Regions from separate parts of the Homo sapiens genome. Here all the other regions are linked to region 3. The links are contacts of gene promoters, found by promoter capture Hi-C in human tissues and cell types (Jung and others, 2019). All regions are on one chromosome and are shown on one strand. Each heading gives the region's core, a stretch centred on a gene start or on the middle of the fragment in contact. The rest is flanking DNA. Distances are from core to core; before and after follow the strand shown.

Region 1 (2,700 bases), core at 120-2,619, 170 kb after region 3:
TGTGCTTATGGTAGCTGCTAATCTCCAAAGACGACCACCATCAATGTCAATGTCTAGGCTATTTCACCACCCATCAGTGGGTAGCCCTATTTCCTCCTGCCCCTTGTGGACTAGTCTTGTGATTTTCTCTGACCAGCAGAATGCATCAGAGACAACTTTTGAGCTCCAGATCTTAAGAGGGCCGCTAGCTCCTGCTTCATTCCCCTTAGAAGCCAGCGGCCCCATATGAAGTCCTACTATAAGAAGTCCAAGCTGGTCACCTGGGAAGAGAGAGGGAGGGAATGTGGTGGGACATGAAGGTAGGAGGGGGTGAAACAGCCTCAGCCTTCCAGCCCAGCCCTGGAGCCAACCGAACACAGCCAAGTGAGTGACCCCAGCTGAGTTTCATGGAGCAGAATTATCCATCCGAGACCTGTCCGAATTCCTGACCCGCAGAATCATGAGAAATAATAAACCATTACTGTTTTCAACCATTCTGTTTCAGGGTGATTTGTTATGCAGCAATAGATAACCAAAATGAGGCTCCCCTTTAGCTTTAAAAGAATGTTCCATCTCATATCCATCTTCAAACATCCCCCACAGTTCTGCGGTCCTACATCCACCAACAGTTACTGCCCTCTTTGTATCACCACCGCAGTCCTCTACAATAGCACTTCACATGCCACTGGATAGTCACTTACGTACAGAACAACTTCCCCTTGTAGACGGAGTTGCTAGAGGGCTGTGACTGACTGCCGTATTTCTCTTAGTATCCCAACATCCAGCACGGTGCTCAGCACATGGCAGTGAGTGCTCCATCAATGTTGGCTGAGTCATGCAGACATGTGGGCATGGAACTACCACACAACTGGCCTGCCTGCAGGCATGCCTTCTGGCACTGGCAAACCCAAAACAAAGATGGAAGAATGAAAAACAGGACCCAGGCAAGCACACTTCCCAGAACCAGACAAGATGCAAAAGGTGCAGGAGAGAGATGAAGGGCAAGATCTGCTGGTGGGAGGCAGAAGTCACATGCGGAAAGCCACTGAGATTTGGAAACTTTCCACAGCACTGCTGGTTTACCCAGCCTGATAGGGTACACATTCTACAGGTATATCTTGTTTTCCTCTCGGGGAACTGAACACAATTGGAAGAGGGAGTAGAGGAACCTGAAGGCTGTCAATGAGTAAAGTCAATATAAACTACAACGAACAAAATAGAACAGTTGCAGGTTCAGGATTTCTGGGAAGTATTCAGAAGGTTAAACTTTATACCAGATCTAGGCAAGAACTCAAGGCATTAATACACTGTGTTTTATGAAGAACCAAAAAGGCTCAAGGGGCATATAAAACAAACGAAGTAGGACAGCCGGCTGTACCAGTTAGTTTTTGAACAAAGTACTCATTTTAAGGCATCGACTTCCTCCCACCAAAATTCCAAAGTAAATAAGAAATTGATTTTAAACCAGTGGTATACACTAACTTAATTAACGGAGGAGATGTATGACAACCACACACTTGGCTGTCAGAAACAAACAACAGAAAAACAGCATAGTCAACACAAAGCAAAAATGGTATCAAAACCACAAGGAAATGATCCAGGACGTGATAAAAGAGGAAATGCGGCAAGAAAATGTCACTCAGTATTAAGAAAAATATTATCCTCACTGGTGGAGAAAATGGAATATGGCTCATCATGGAATTTTAACTTTTTGAGTTTTTTTATTGTTAAAATGTTTAATTTGCCGAAATAAAGTAAAATGCACCACCACACAACACTGTAGGTTTTGAAAGCCTGCTTCATTCATTTCTCTTAACCTACGTTTGGTGAGCATCTTCTATGGGCTAGGCCAGGCTGTGACTTCACAGTCAGGGCTTCTAACAGGGACAGGGAGCTGGCCAGGGGCCACAGGTGGCTCTGACTGGGGCTCTGTCCACAGAGCTCACTCTGCCCTGCAAGCAAAGCCTGTGAGTGGGCACTTCAGTGGGAGAGACCACAGAGTCATTCTCTAACCCAGACCCAGAACAGAGGAGACCGTGGCTGGGGGTGCACATGCCCACCCCCAGGGTGGGAAAAACTCTTGCTAGCTGTGTGAGCAAGTCAATGAACTTCTCTAAGCTTTATTTTCCTCATCTGTAAAATGGGGATCCTTACAGTACCTACCTCATGCAATTGTTGCACGGATTAAACAAGAGACACTGTGCCGTCTCCTCACACAATGTTTGGCACACAGCATGCACTCTATAATTGTTGGGTATTATTATTATTCCCAGCTCAGCCCCTGAGACTGCTGCAGGAGAGGACCAGAGAAAGAAGTGCAAAGAGAACCTTATTCAAAGGCCCAAATGCCAATGAACAATCAGAGAAATGCACCTTTAATGGAGATATTTTTTACCTATGAGTTGGGCAAAGACAATAAAGACTGGTCACAGCCTGTATTATGGAGGAGAGAAGCAAGCTGGCACTCTGGTGCATTGCTAGAGAGAATGTGGATTGCTTCAGCCTTTCTAGAGAGCGATTTGGCAATATGCATCAAAATTTAATATGTGCATACTGCCTAGTCCAGCAAGTCTATTTCTGAGAATTTATCTTAAGAAAGTAATTGGAAAAGTGTGTAAAGATGTATACACAACGATGCTCATAGCAGTGTTTTTTTTCTTTGTTTTTTTTTCTTTTTTTTTTTGAGACAGGGTCTTGCTCTGTTGCCCAGGCTGAAGTGCC
Region 2 (2,762 bases), core at 132-2,631, 180 kb before region 3:
TGGCGTGAATCAGGAGGCAGAGCTTGCAGTGAGCCAAGATCGTGCCACTGCACTCCATCCTGCCTGGGTGACAGAGCGAGACTCCGTCTCCAAAAAAAAAAAAAAAAAAAAAAAAAAAAGTTTGAGACCAGCCTGGCCAACATGGTAAAATCCCATCTCTACTAAAAATACAAAAATTAGCTAGGCATGGTGGCAGGTGCCTGTAGTCTCAGCTACTTGGAAGGCTGAGGCAGGAGAACTGTTTGAACCTGGGAGGCGGAGGTTGCAGTGAGCCGACATCACACCACTGCACTCCAGCCTGGGCGACAGAGTGAGACTCCGTCTGGGGGAGGAAAAAAAAGATCACAGATGTACCACCCAGTTTAAGAAAGGAAAAATTTTTTAAAAAATAAAACAAAAATAAAAGACCAGAAAAAACTCTTTCCCCTCTTTCTGGATGTGAGGACACAAGAAGGTAGCTGTCTCCAAGCCGAGAAGAGAGCCCTCACTAGACCCAGTTTAAGAAAGGAAAAAAATTTTTAAATAAAATAAAAATAAAAGAGACCAGAAAAAACTCTTTCCCCTCTTTCTGGATGTGAGGACACAAGAAGGTAGCTGTCTCCAAGCCGAGAAGAGAGCCCTCACTAGAACCCAAACATGTGGGTGCCCGATCTTGAACTTCAAGCCTCCAGAACTATGAGAAATAAGTTTCTGTTTTTATAAGCCACCCAGAGTCTGTGGTACATGCTATAGCAGCCTGAACTAAGACACCTAGCTAGGGCTAAAGTGACTGATCTCTTGAAGTTTCCCAGAATAAGTGCGGAGGCAGCCCTTGACCTATTGGCAGAGGCCTTGCACTGGTCCCTTCTGTGTTTCAGTGAATCTTTAATACTTTTTTTTTTTTTGAGATGGAGTTTTGCTCTTGTTGACCAGGCTGGAGTGCAATGGCATGATCTTGACTCACCACAAACTCCGCCTCCCAGGTTCAAGCAATTCTCCTGCCTGAGCCTCCCGAATAGCTGGGATTACAGGCGCGCATCAACAAACCCAGCTAATTTTATATTTTTAGTAGAGACAGGGTTTCTCCATGTTGGTCAGGCTGGTCTCGAGCTCCTGACCTCAGGTAATCCACCGGCCTCAGCCGCCCAAAGTGCTGGGATTACAGACATGAGCCACCACACCTGGCCCTGAATCTTTAAATACTTTTGTTGCAAAATTTTCCTTTATTGTTTTCTTGGACTACATACTCATGACTACTATTATTTTTTACTATCATTAGTTTCTAACAACTAAATATCTTAAAATGTTCTTAAAGTTTTTCAGTGGGTGAATTATTATTAATTAATTTGTTTATTTATGACAGAGTCTTACTCTGTTGTCCAGGCTAGAGTGCAGTGGTGCAAACATAGCTCATCACAGCCTCGAACTCCCAGGCTCAACCAAGTCTCACACTTCAGCCTCCTGAGTAGCTGGGACTATAGGTGCATGCCATCATGCCTGGCTGGAACATTCAATTAATTAATTTATTTATTTATTCTGAGACAGAGTCTCGCTTTGTCATCCAGGCTGCCGTGCAGTGGCACAATCTTGGCTCAGTGCAACCTCCATCTCCCAGGTTCAAGCGATTCTTATGCCTCAGCCTCCCAACTATCTGGGATTACAGGCACCCTCCACCACGCCTGGCCTAATTCTTATATTTTTAGTAGAGACGAGGTTTCACCGTGTTGGCCAGGCTGGTCTCTAACTCCTGGCCTCATGTGATCTGTCCACCTTGGCCTCCCAAAGTGCTGGGATTACAGGTGTGAGTTACTGTGCCCAGCCTGAAACATTCATTTTAAAAGAGACTTTTGTATTAAGCTTATAGTCATTAGGATATGTAAACATATTACTGATTAAAATTTTTAGTTTAACTGGTTTAACAGCATGTTTTAGGCAAAAAAATAAGAAGGAGGAGCAAGAAGAAGGAAAAAGAAAAAGTGGAAGAACAAGAGGAAGAATTAAGTGAAAGGAAGAACTCATCTCCCAGTCCTCCCTATTGATAGCTGTGCCTCCCCAGAGGGTGGCCCGCCATCAGCTGCATCAGATTTGCTGGGGATACTTAAAAATATAAGTAACTGAGGCCAGGCTCAGCGGTTCACACCTGTAATCCCAGCACTTTGAAAGGCCAAGGTAGGAGGATCTTGGAAGGCCAGGCTGAGCAACACAGTGAGACCTCATCTCTACTAAAATTCAAAAAAATTAGCCAGGCATGGTGGCACATGCCTGTAGTCCCAGCTACTTGTGGGGCTGAGGTGGGAGGATTACTTGAGCCCAGGAAGTTGAGGCTGTAGTGAGCCCTGATCATGCCACTGTACTCCAGCCTGGGTGACACAGTGAGACCTTATCTTTAAGGTGGAGGTGGGGAGGAAAGTAGGTAACTGATCCCATCTACACAATCGGCATCTGTGAGTGGAATCCAAGGATCTGTGATCAAGTTACCCTAGTAATTCTGAGAAGCACTAAAGTTTGAGAACTACCTTTCAGGAAAGTGACTAATTAGCTCATGAAAGTGACACCAAACCCTACTGTCTACTTGGAGCAGCTCACACCACCCTAAACCGAGGCAAATATCCTAGGAGCTGGCACAAAGCTTCCCAGATTCGAAACCTCCCCAATCTAAACCTGTTAAGGAAAGCAGAGCATCTCGATTGCACAGAAATTGATACAACAATACTTTCCAAAGTTAAATTATTGAGAAGTATCCATTGGAATAGCGTTTCACCTTGACCGTTATTGATCATCAT
Region 3 (2,732 bases), core at 221-2,720:
TCCACACATGGCAGGCTGTGTGCACACAGACGATTCCCTCGCCTTTATAGGTGCTATTCCTTTGACTTGAAAAGCCCATCAACTCTAATCTGCACATACAAACTTCAGCACCCAGCCCAAATGTCACTTTCTCTGTGAATCCTTCCCCTATACCTCTCAGGCAGAGTTCATCCCATCCTCCTTTTTATTCCCATCACAGTGGAAGGTACCCCTATTTGAGTCTTGCCAGGTTGCATCAAATTTCTTTCTTCCGGGTTTGGTTCCCTGCTGCACTGTGCTCTCAAGGGGAAGAGGCGTGTCTCAGTCATCTCAGTCTCCAGTGCCTAGGATGAGACCTTTTATATACATGTGGGTCTTCAATAAATGTTTTAGACGGAATGCAGAGCTCTAGTCAAGTTACTCCTCAGCTCAAAATCTCTACAGAACCTTCCCCTTTGCTTCCTGACTTTGTTTCAAATTCCTCTACCAGGCACGCAGAAGCTTAGCCCACAGCTCTCCTCTTGCCTCCCCACCTCACATGCCTTGGCTCACCTGCGCTTCTGGGTGCTGCTGGTACAGCCACCCTCTGACACTTCCTTACCTCTGGACCTTTGCTCATCTGTCCCTCTACCTATAATGCCATCTTCCCCTCTCCCCCTGTCAAAATTCTAGCCATCCTTCAAGGCCCAGGCCAAATGCCATTTTCTTTTTTTTTTTTTTTTTTTTTTTGGAGATGGAGTCTCCCTCTGTCGGCCAAGCTGGAATGCAGGGTCAGGAGCATCTCAGCTTACTGCAACCTCTGTCTTCCGGGTTCAAGCGATTTTCCTGCCTCAGCTTCCCAAGTGGCTGGGACTACAGGCATGCACCACCACACCTGGCTAATTTTTGTATTTTTATTAGAGATGGGGTTTCACCATTTTGGCCAGGCTGGTCTTGAACTCCTGACTTCAAGTGATCCACCTGCCTCAGCCTCCCAGAGTGCTGGGACTACAGGGTGAGCCCCCATGCCCAACCTCAAATGCCATTTTCTTCTTGAAGCATCCCATCAGCAGATGTGGCCTCCACTGTTGAAACCCACAGTGCTTTATCCTCCCAAGCCATTCCTCAAACACGGTTCTGGGGTTGAATGATGCGTGTTTGTAATTAACGCACTTCGACAGCAGGTATCTCCCAACTTCAGCATAGTGGGTGCTCAGTGAATATTGGCCCAAATGGAATTGAGCATCCATGCTACACCTGCAGATGGGAGAGGCAGCAAACTCATGTCCCAGGAACCAGCATGACACAGATCTCTCTTGTCCTCCCCTTGTTTCTCAATAAGGACAATATTTGCGCTCAGGGGAGAAGGGCACAGCTTGCCCCTCCCTTCCTTCCTCAGCCAACGGTTTGGCTTCCCTTCTAGAGAGGTGAGAGAAGGTGTGACAGGCCAAGTTTCCTTTGCTCCACCCCATGGTGTTTCCCCCAAACACCCAGCATAAGTTCACCTCTGGCAGAGTTGCTTTCCAGCTCCTGCAGGTGGGAGTCGACTCACCTGCAGCAGGCACTCGGCACAACTCCGCAGGACCGGCTCACCTGCACCGGGCACTCAGCACAGCCTCCAGCATGCAGCGCCTCCCCGCTGCCACCCGGGCCACCCTGATCCTCAGCCTGGCCTTTGCCTCCCTCCACTCGGCTTGCTCGGCAGGTAGCGTTATGAGCTTTATTCATGGCCAGGCTGGGAAGGGGGAGGGAAGGAGGGAAGAGAGGTGGGAGGGAAAGAAGGAGGAGGGGGAAGATTCTTTGGCCAGGGTTGGTCCTGCGCAAAGGAAGGAGGAAACAGAACTTTCTCATCTGAAGGATTAGGCAGGGGGTGGGAGGTGGGGCTGGGGCAGGGGGGGTCTTAGGTTGGCCTGAGACGGAGATCAGATACTCAATTCCTCAGCTAAGGCAGGAGCAGCCACCTCTCTTGGCCTTTGCCACAAAGAAAGGAAAAAGTTATTTGCTGGAGTCTCACCCATCAGGGGACCAAAATGATATCTCTTGGTCCGCTGTGTCCTGAAGGCTCCTTCTCAGCCCCACTGGGCTGTCGTGCTTTGCAATCCTCCCTGTGCACATTTGTGTCTGACCTTCCCTTTCCTAAGTCCTCCATCCCTCCCTGCCCCTTGTACTTTCTCTGCGACTTTCACAAAACCTGACTGCCAGGAGGGCTGCCATTCACTGTCTCCCACCCTCCTGCCTCCCCGGGCACTGGAAATGCTGGGTTATCTCCCCATTTTCCTGTGGAGGCTGGAAGGCTGATCTACATCCCCTGCCTTGCCCTGCCAGGCCGGGTTCTGCAACTCACGGCAGAGGGACCTTGGTTACCATCTTCTGCTCCTGGCTTTGATCTTGTTCTCAGCCACCTCAGAACACCACCACACTCTCTATGCCCTGCAACACTCCTGCTCCCAAAACCAACCCTGCCCCCAAAGTCCTGTGTCTGCCCCTCTCATCCTCAGACTCTCTTCTGTAGCCACTGCCAGGGGTGTTGGTGTTGAGGTTCAAGACGTGCACTCTTGAGCCGCTGAGCCTGAACCCAGGTCCAGCTTCCATGACTCACTAGCTATGCGACCTCGAGCAAATGACTTTACCTCTCTATGCCAAGTTTCCTCCTTTATCTCATGGGGACAATCATAGTGCTTGTCAAGACGAATTGATGTAATTTCATGTAAAGAACTTAGAAATAGCCCATAGAACACACACAGTGAATGTCAGCAATTATGGTAAGCACATTC
Region 4 (2,727 bases), core at 137-2,636, 130 kb after region 3:
GGCATTCTTTTTTTCAGATGGAGTCTCACTCTGTTGCCCAGGCTGGAGTGCAGTGGTGCAATCTCAGCTCACTGCAACCTCTGCCTCCCAGGTTCAAGCAATTCTCCTGCCTCAGCCTCCCGAGTAGCTGAGACTATAGGCACGTGCCACCACGCCCAGCTAATTTTTGTATTTTTAATAGAGACAGTGTTTCACCATGTTGGCTAGGCTGGTCTCAAACTCCTGACCTCAGGTGATCCACCCGCCTCAGCCTCCCATAGTGCTGGGATTGTAGGCATGAGCCACCATGCCCAGCCTAAAGGCATTCTTGATGTATAAATACACCTTTGTTGCAGGTTTGGTCCTGGACAAACTTAATAAAGCAAATATCACAATAAAGCAAGTCACACAAATTTTTTTGTTTCCCAGTGCATATAAAAGTTATGTTTATACCATACTGTAGTCTATTAAGTACACAATAGCATTATGTCTTAAAAAAACAATGTACATCTCCTAATGCTATCCCTCTAATGTAAATGACAAGTTAATGGGCGCAGCACACCAACATGGCACATATATACATATGTAACAAACCTGCATGTTGTGCACATGTACCCTAGAACTTAAAGTATAATAAAAAATACATTAAAAAAAATGTACACATCTTAACTAAAAATACTTCATTGTTAAAAATGCTAACAATTGTCTAAGCCTTCAGCGAGTTGCAATCTTTTTGTTGGTGGTGTTTTATCTCAGTGTTGACGGCTGCTGGCTGATGAGGGTGGGTGGCTGATGAAGGTTAGGGTGGCTTTATCTTAGACAATGAAGTTTGCCTCATCAATTGATGCTTCATTTCATGAAAGACTTCTCTGTAGCCTGTGATGCTGTTTGATAGCATTTGGCCCACAGTAGAACTTCCTTCAAAATTGGAGTGAATCCTCTCAAACTCTGCCAACTGTTTTATCGACTAGGCTTATGGAATATTCTACATCCTTTGTTGTCATTTCAACAATATTCACAGCATCTTCACCAGCACTAGGTTCCATCTCAAGAAACCACTTTCTTTGCTCATCCATAAGAAGTGACTCCTCGTCTGTTTAAGTTTGACCATGAGTGCTGCAATTCGTCATGTCTTCTGGCTCTGCTTCTAATTCAGGTTCTTCATTCCATCTGCAGTGACTTCCTCCACTGAAGTCTTGAATGCCTCAAAGTCATTCATGAGGTTTCGCATCAACTTCTTCCAAACTTCTGTTAATGTTGATATTTTGGCTGTCTCTCATAAATCACGAATATTCTTTATGGCATCTAGAATGGTGAACCTTTTCCAGAATGTTCTTGACGTACTTTTCTCAGACCCATGAGAGAAATCGCTACCTATGGCAGCTATATAGCCTTATGAAATATATTTCTTTTATCTTTTTGTTTTGTTTTGTTTTTTAAGACAGTGCCTTGCTCTATTTCCCAAGCTGGAATACAATGGTACAATTATAGCTCACAGCACCCTTGAACTCCTGGGCTCAAGGAATCCCCCACAGCTCAACCTCCCAAACAGCTGGGACCATAGGCATGTGCCACTATGCCCAGCTATTTATTTTATCTTTCTTTTGTAGAGATAAGGTCTCACTATGTTGCCCAGGTTAGTCTCAAACTCCTGGCCTCAAGCAATCCTCCTGCCTCGGCCTCCCAAAGTGAGTCACCGCACCCAGCCATGAAATGTATTTCTTATATAGTAAGACTTGAAAGTCAAAATTACTCTTGATCCATGGGTTGCAGAATGGATGTGTGTTAACAGGCATGAAAGCAACTTTAATCTCCTTATCCATCTTGATAAGAGTTATTGGGTGACTAGGTCCATTGTCAATGAGCAGTAATAGTTTGAAAGGAATCTTTTGTTCTGAGCGGTAGGTCTCAAGAGTGGCCTTAAGTTAGTCAGTAAATCATGCTTTACACAGATGTGCTGTCATCTAGGCTGTGTTGTTTCACTTACAGAGTGCAAGCAGAGCCAACTTACCATAATTCTTAAGGGCCCCAGACTTTTCAGAATGGTCCATGAGCACTGGCTTCAACTTCAAGTCACTAGCTTCATTGGCCCCTAACAAGAGAGTCAGCCATCCTTTGAAGCTCTGAAGCCAAGCATTGACTTCTCTAGCTGTGAAAGTCCTAGATGACATCTTCTCCTAGAAGGCTGCTTCATCCACACTGAAAATCTGTTGTTTAGTCTAACTGCCTCCACCAGTGATCTTACCTAAATCCTCCGGATAATTTGCTGTTACACCTTGTACTTCTATGTACGGAGAAGCTTCTTTCCTTAAATCTCAAGAACCAACCTCTGTTAGCTTCAAACTTTTCTTCTGCAGCCTCCTTACCTTTTTCAGCCTTTAGAGGATCAAACAGAGTTAGAGCCTTGCTCTGGATTAGGCTTTGGCTTATGGGAATGTTGCAGCTGATTTAATCTATCCAGACCATTCAAGCTTTCTCCGTATCAGCAACAAGGCTGTTTTGCTTTCTTATTATTCATGTGTTCGTTGTGGTACTACTTTTAATTTCCTTCAAGAACTTTTCCTTTGCATTCACAACTTGGCAATCTATTTGTTGCAAGAGGTCAGCTTTCAGGCTCCCTTGGCTTTTGATGTGTCTTCCTCACGTAATCATTTCTAGCTTTTGACTGCAAGTGAGAGACATGCAACTCTTCCTCTCACTTGAGCACTTAGAGGCCACTGCAGAGTTATAAACTGGACTAATTTCAAA
Region 5 (2,700 bases), core at 16-2,515, 200 kb before region 3:
GTGCATTGTCAGTGAGCAGTAATGTTTTAGATGAAGTCCTTTTTTTCAGCAGTAGGTCTCAAAAAATGGGGTTAAAAAATTAACCATGCCATAAAAAGATAATTCTGTCATAAGCATTGTTCCATTTATAAAGTACAGGCAGAGTAGATTTAGCATAATTCTTAAGGGCCCTCGAATTTTGAGAACAGTCAATGAGCATTGGCTTCACCAGCTGCATTAGTCCCTAACAAGAAAGTCAGCCTATTCTTTGAAACCAAGCATTGACTTGTAACTATAAAGTCCTAGTTGGCTTCTTCTTCCAATAGAAGACGATTTTATCGACATGAAAATCTGTTTAGTGTAACTACCATCAGTGATTTTAGCTAAATCTGTATAACTTGCTGTAGTGTCTCCATTAGCACTTGCTGCTTCACCTTGCACTTGCCTTCACAGAGAGGTAGGCTCTTGCTCTAGATTAGGTTTTGGCTTAAGGGAATGTTGTGGATAGTTTGATCTATCCAGACCAAACTTTCTCCACATTAGCAATAAGGCTGTTGTGCTTTCTTATCATTCGTGCATTTTACTAAAGTAGTCCCTTCAAGAACTCTCCCTGTGCATTCACAACTTGGCTGTTTGGCATAAGAGGCCTAGCTTTGAGCCTGTAACTTTCAACATACCCTCCTCACTAAGCTTAATCATTTCTAGCTTTTGATTTAAAATGAGAAATGTGCGAGTCTTCCTTTCACTTGAACATTTACAGGCTATTGTAGGGTTATTTGGCCTAAGTTCAATATTACTGAGTCTCAGGGGATAGGAAGGCCTAAGGAAAAGGAGAGAGAAGGGGGATCATCCAGTAGGCAGAGCAGTCAGAACACACATGTATTAAGTTTGCCTTCTTACATGAGTGTGGTTAGTGGCACTCTCAAAACAATTGCAATAGTAATGTCAAAGGTCACCAATCACCATAACAGATTACCAAAATATAACACAGAGACAAAGTGAGCACATGCTGTTTGTAACAGTGCAATATATGGAAGCACAATAAAATAGGGCAGGCCTGTAATTACATGATGGCGGAAAGCTTGCTGCATTCTTTAATCTTTATCATGAGAATCAAAGATTCCCCCTATAAAGAAATAAAATTAGAGATAGGGAATGTAAGGGGGAAAATTGGTTTATTCCCTGCTTCTTGGTGATTATGTGTAATACTCACTCTAATTTAAGCATTTTATGAATAAGCAATTTTCATCAAACTATGGAGGCTGTAAGTTACATAGGCAAATTTGGATTTGAACTTGATGGCTATTCTAGTAGTTTTGAAATGATATCATCCCAGGTTCTTGCCTTAGCTACAAAATTTCAGTCCAAGTTTAGCTACAAACCTCATGGGAGAATATCAAATGTAAGTTTAAAATTTAGTATTTATTCATATAAAGGTTTACAGACTTGATTTCAATGAAGAAAAGCCATCTTCCCCCCCACCATCTCCCTCTCACACCCCTTTGAAAGCTTAAATTATATTTTATAAAAGTACTTTATATATTGTTCCTCAAGGAAGAGATCAATATACAGTTACCTACCCCATTCCCATATATGCCTTTAAAAAAAAAATCACTTTACTAATTACCGAGTAGCATACAGAAGTAAAACCAAGTTTTAAAAAAATGCACCGCAGTTCTGAAGATAGAATTCATTTTTCTCATCTGGTAGACATAGCTTTGCAGGTCTTCATTTAATTTGCTGGAAGAAAGTTATTTAATAGATCAGTAATAGACTTTTTAAAAGTCTTGTCCATTCATACTGAGCTATCTGATATTTTAGTAATAGAAGATTCTTTAATAAAAAATTATTAGGAGGGAAAATCCTAGCATTTACCTTTGTGTATCTGAAGATACAATGCTAACTTTTTAATTCTAATATAATGCAGATGTCATTTAGAAAAATTCACGTTTTATACATATACATACATTATATATACATTTATATGTATACATATATACATACATACATATATATACACGTGTGTGTCTGTGTATATATATAACTTTTTTTTTTTTAGAGACAGGGTTTCACCATGTTGGCCATGCTGGTCTCAAACTCCTGACCTCAGGTGATCCACCTGCCTCAGCCTCCCAAAGTGCTAGGATTACAGACGTGAGCCACTGTACCTGGCCAATATTCTCCTTCTAGATAGTGTTTTAGATTTTTAGTTTACCAGACTTGTCGAATCAGAGTTTCTTAGAGTAGTTGTAACACAGAATCAACACCACTTTAAAACTATTGACCAGGTTGGTTCATCCAAATTATTAGGATGCTGTCTGTATGTGTTGTTGGAAGGAAGTTACTATTTTTGCCATGTTCTTATAAACATTTCTAGAAGCTGTATTGGTGTCAGTCAGGTGGTTTCATATGGTAACCACTCACAACACTGAAGTAGGGGGAGTGGGTGTGGGTGTGTATTTTAAGATTTTTCCCAAAGACATGTAGCCAGTTAGCCCAGACAATTGTATGTATTGAACCTACTTGTTTGTTTAAAAGGCTATAAACAATCATGCAGAATCATTTCCCCATAGTGCTAAAACCAAGTCCCAGTCAACAGAAGAGGAAAAGCCTTCTAGGTGGATATGACTTGAATAGGAGATTCTAGATGGTGAGTCAGGTTTCCATTTATATGTATCATTATTTGCAAAATTAAGTGACGCTAAATTCCTATCCCTTAGT
Region 6 (2,700 bases), core at 51-2,550, 230 kb after region 3:
GAGGTTATGGTGAGATGAGATCGCGCCATTGCACTCCGGCCTGGGCAACAAGAGTGAAACTCTGTCTCCAAAAAAAAAAAAAAGAGTAGACAGAGTGAGGTAGAAGTCTCTGGAGAGAACCCAAAGGTTATATACTCTGTACTACTGGCTGAGGATGGACCTACAAAAATTGAATATCATCCAAGCACAGTATTGCTGAGGTCCTTTCATGAAAATTTGAGGCCTCGTTAAAGGCTGTCCCACATCAGCATAGATGAGGGCCCCATTAATAAAAGGCCAAATATAAAATGAAAAAATAAGAACAATCAGAAAGCAGACACCAGAAAACTATTCACTCATACATATATTTTTAAAAATGCAAATGACAGTATCCTTTAGCATCTATAAGCTAAGCAAAAGTAAAAAATAGCTGGAAAAATTCAATATTCTGCAGATTTTAAGACAGGAGTTATATTCAAAATTTGTTAAGAGGCTGGGTGCAGTGGCTCATGCCTGTAATCCTAGCACTCTGGGAGGCTGAAGCAGGCAGATCGCTTGAGCCCAGGAGTTCAAGACTAGCCTGGGCAACATGGCAAAATACCCTCTCTACAAAAAAAAAATACAAAAAATTAGCTGGTCGTGGTGCATACCTGTAGTCCCAGCTACTCAGGAGGCTGAGGTGGGATGATCACTTGAGCCCAGGAAGTCAAGGCTGCAGTGAGCCGAGATCACGTCACTGCACTCCAGCCTGGGCAACAGAGCAAGACCATCTCAAAAAAAAAAACTGTTAGAAAAAGCCAAGTAGTTAAACAAACTATGATAATATTAATGTATCTGTGCAAAAACATGATTATGTACGATGTGAACAAATATAGAAAGATGCTTATGAGACAATATTAAGTGAAAAAAAAAAATGAGTGCAAAGTACTCTAGGATTGCCACAATATAAATTGATAGAAAAACAATGGTGGACCACAGAAGTCAGCAGAGCTCCATCTACCCAGCCTGAGGAAAGCACCTAGGAGCTGCAGATAGCAGCTGCCATCTTCAGCACTTGCCCTGGACTAGCCCCATCTGCACTCAATTTTAGCCTCTCTTTGCCTGTTCAATGTCCCACCCCATCCCCAACCACCCATGCCCAAATGTATTCTTCCAAAAGGACATTTTCTCCTTTTCCATCTTCTTTACTTCTCGCAAGACACTGTGAGGTAGATATTATTATGACCATTACAAATCTATCATTAAATGAATGAATGGTTACAAATTAAAGCTAAACAGAAGGCTTGTTTTCAGATCTTCCAAGCTGGACAAGCTTCTTCTTAGTTCACTGACCCCCTTTAAGGTTTACCTGGGCAGGGCTTCTTGGCCGACTGAGCAGGGACAGAAGCCAGAGGACCAGCTTCTGCAGCTCCAGCTGCGTGCACTCCTTGCTTCTCAAGGCCTTGTGAATGCTCAGTCGAAGGTGATGAATTATCTACAAAGAGGAAAGGGATAAGTTTTCCTACGATACCCCAAGTTTCATTTTACGTTGGGAGCAACAGCCCAGCTAACCAGCCATCAGACAAGACTCCCAACACATGGATTTGGAGAGTTCATGTCTTCTGGATTTTAAAAAATTGTATGTGTGTGTGTATAAAAAATAGAGAGAGAGAGAGCAAGCGGAAAGTCACTATGTCACAGGAGAGACTCACCAAACGAAACCAGATGAAGACAATGACAGGCCCTAGACACAGCATAGGGTAGAAGGTACCTGCCACCATTCACAGTTCCCTAAACAGCCCGACACTGGTATATGCAGAGCCCTCCCTGTCTGCACTCACTACGTCTGACACTAACATCCCAACACATGAAAACTCGATGGTGAAAGCTTAGCAACTCCGCCTTTGGTGATTTACCTTTCCCAACAGCAATTCTCCTAAGCCTACCACCCACTGATTTCTAGGTACCAGCAAATGTAACAGAATAAGTAACTGAATGCATTAGAATTAAAAGAACACCAAACCACACTTTGTAGACTAAAAAACTACTAAAGGCCAGGTGCAGTGGCTCACGCCTGTCATCCCAACACTTTGGGAGGCCAGGGCTGGAGGACTGCTTGAGCCCAGGAGTTCAAAACCAGCCTGGTCAACATAGCAAAACCTTGTCCCTACAAAAGAAAAATTTTAAAAAATAGCTGGACATGGTGGCATGTGCCTGCAGTCCCAGCTACCAGGGAGGCTGAGCAGAAAGATCACTTGAGCCCAGGAGTTCGAGGCTGCAGTGAGTCATGACTGTGCCACTGTACTCCAGCCTAGGCAACAGAGCAAGATCCTGTCTTCAAAAACAACAATAAAAATTACTGAAAGACTATGGGAATATATTTATAATGGGAATATGCAATATTCCTAGCAATATGGGAAAATATGATGTTGTATAAAGTAGAAATTTAAGATATTAAATTAACATATACTTTGAGCACAATTGGATTCGTGTTTGTATATAACAGAACTGAAGGGCCTATAATAAAATTGTAACAAGTATAGTAGATTAGAGTGAGCAAAATCATATACAATTTTCATTTCCAGTTGCTATTTTCCAAATTGTTCTGTAATGTCATTAAAATTACTTAAAAATTAACAAAGCCAAAAATTATATTTATGACAAGAAAGCCATCCCTACATTAATCTTACTTTTCCACTCACCGGCCCATCTCCTTCCTCTTTTTCCTAACTATGCCATTAA

What was found. The method cuts DNA at HindIII sites, captures the fragments that hold promoters and counts their contacts. A contact is called where the count stands out against the background at its distance.
Region 1: a fragment that was not itself captured here is called in contact with the fragment with the promoter of TMEM213 in region 3 in 2 of the 25 tissues and cell types used here (H1 embryonic stem cells and liver).
Region 2: a contact is called between a fragment that was not itself captured here and the fragment with the promoter of TMEM213 in region 3, in 1 of the 25 tissues and cell types used here (pancreas).
Region 4: a fragment that was not itself captured here is called in contact with the fragment with the promoter of TMEM213 in region 3 in 2 of the 25 tissues and cell types used here (H1 embryonic stem cells and psoas muscle).
Region 5: a contact is called between a fragment that was not itself captured here and the fragment with the promoter of TMEM213 in region 3, in 2 of the 25 tissues and cell types used here (H1 embryonic stem cells and mesendoderm cells).
Region 6: a fragment that was not itself captured here is called in contact with the fragment with the promoter of TMEM213 in region 3 in 1 of the 25 tissues and cell types used here (H1 embryonic stem cells).

Annotation. Positions count from the first base shown.
Region 1 is chr7:138,962,317-138,965,016 of GRCh38, forward strand. All of the region lies in intron 1 of KIAA1549, which reads right to left. Among named protein-coding and RNA genes, the nearest start is that of KIAA1549, 18 kb to the right of the region's middle. The HindIII fragment of the contact is 7,609 bases long and covers 1-2,700 here.
Region 2 is chr7:138,615,470-138,618,231 of GRCh38, forward strand. The region is part of intron 14 of SVOPL (SVOP like); the gene reads right to left. Among named protein-coding and RNA genes, the nearest start is that of SVOPL, 85 kb to the right of the region's middle. The HindIII fragment of the contact is 3,439 bases long and covers 1-2,762 here.
Region 3 is chr7:138,796,524-138,799,255 of GRCh38, forward strand. It overlaps TMEM213 (transmembrane protein 213), which reads left to right and starts at 1,471. Exons shown (of 3, transcript NM_001085429.2): 1 at 1,471-1,663. The coding sequence starts at 1,582. It overlaps ATP6V0A4 (ATPase H+ transporting V0 subunit a4), which reads right to left and starts at 1,673. Exons shown (of 22, transcript NM_020632.3): 1 at 1,511-1,673. RefSeq lists a silencer at 1,441-1,735. The HindIII fragment of the contact is 6,104 bases long and covers 1-2,732 here.
Region 4 is chr7:138,928,291-138,931,017 of GRCh38, forward strand. All of the region lies in intron 1 of KIAA1549, which reads right to left. Among named protein-coding and RNA genes, the nearest start is that of KIAA1549, 52 kb to the right of the region's middle. The HindIII fragment of the contact is 3,450 bases long and covers 1-2,727 here.
Region 5 is chr7:138,592,903-138,595,602 of GRCh38, forward strand. It overlaps SVOPL (SVOP like), which reads right to left. Exons shown (of 16, transcript NM_001139456.2): 16 at 1,383-1,719. The coding sequence ends at 1,708. Among named protein-coding and RNA genes, the nearest start is that of SVOPL, 110 kb to the right of the region's middle. The HindIII fragment of the contact is 4,048 bases long and covers 1-2,700 here.
Region 6 is chr7:139,025,381-139,028,080 of GRCh38, forward strand. ZC3HAV1L (ZC3HAV1 like) reads right to left here. Exons shown (of 5, transcript NM_080660.4): 4 at 1,328-1,453; 5 at 326-1,180. The coding sequence ends at 1,164. Among named protein-coding and RNA genes, the nearest start is that of ZC3HAV1L, 9.3 kb to the right of the region's middle. The HindIII fragment of the contact is 4,981 bases long and covers 1-2,700 here.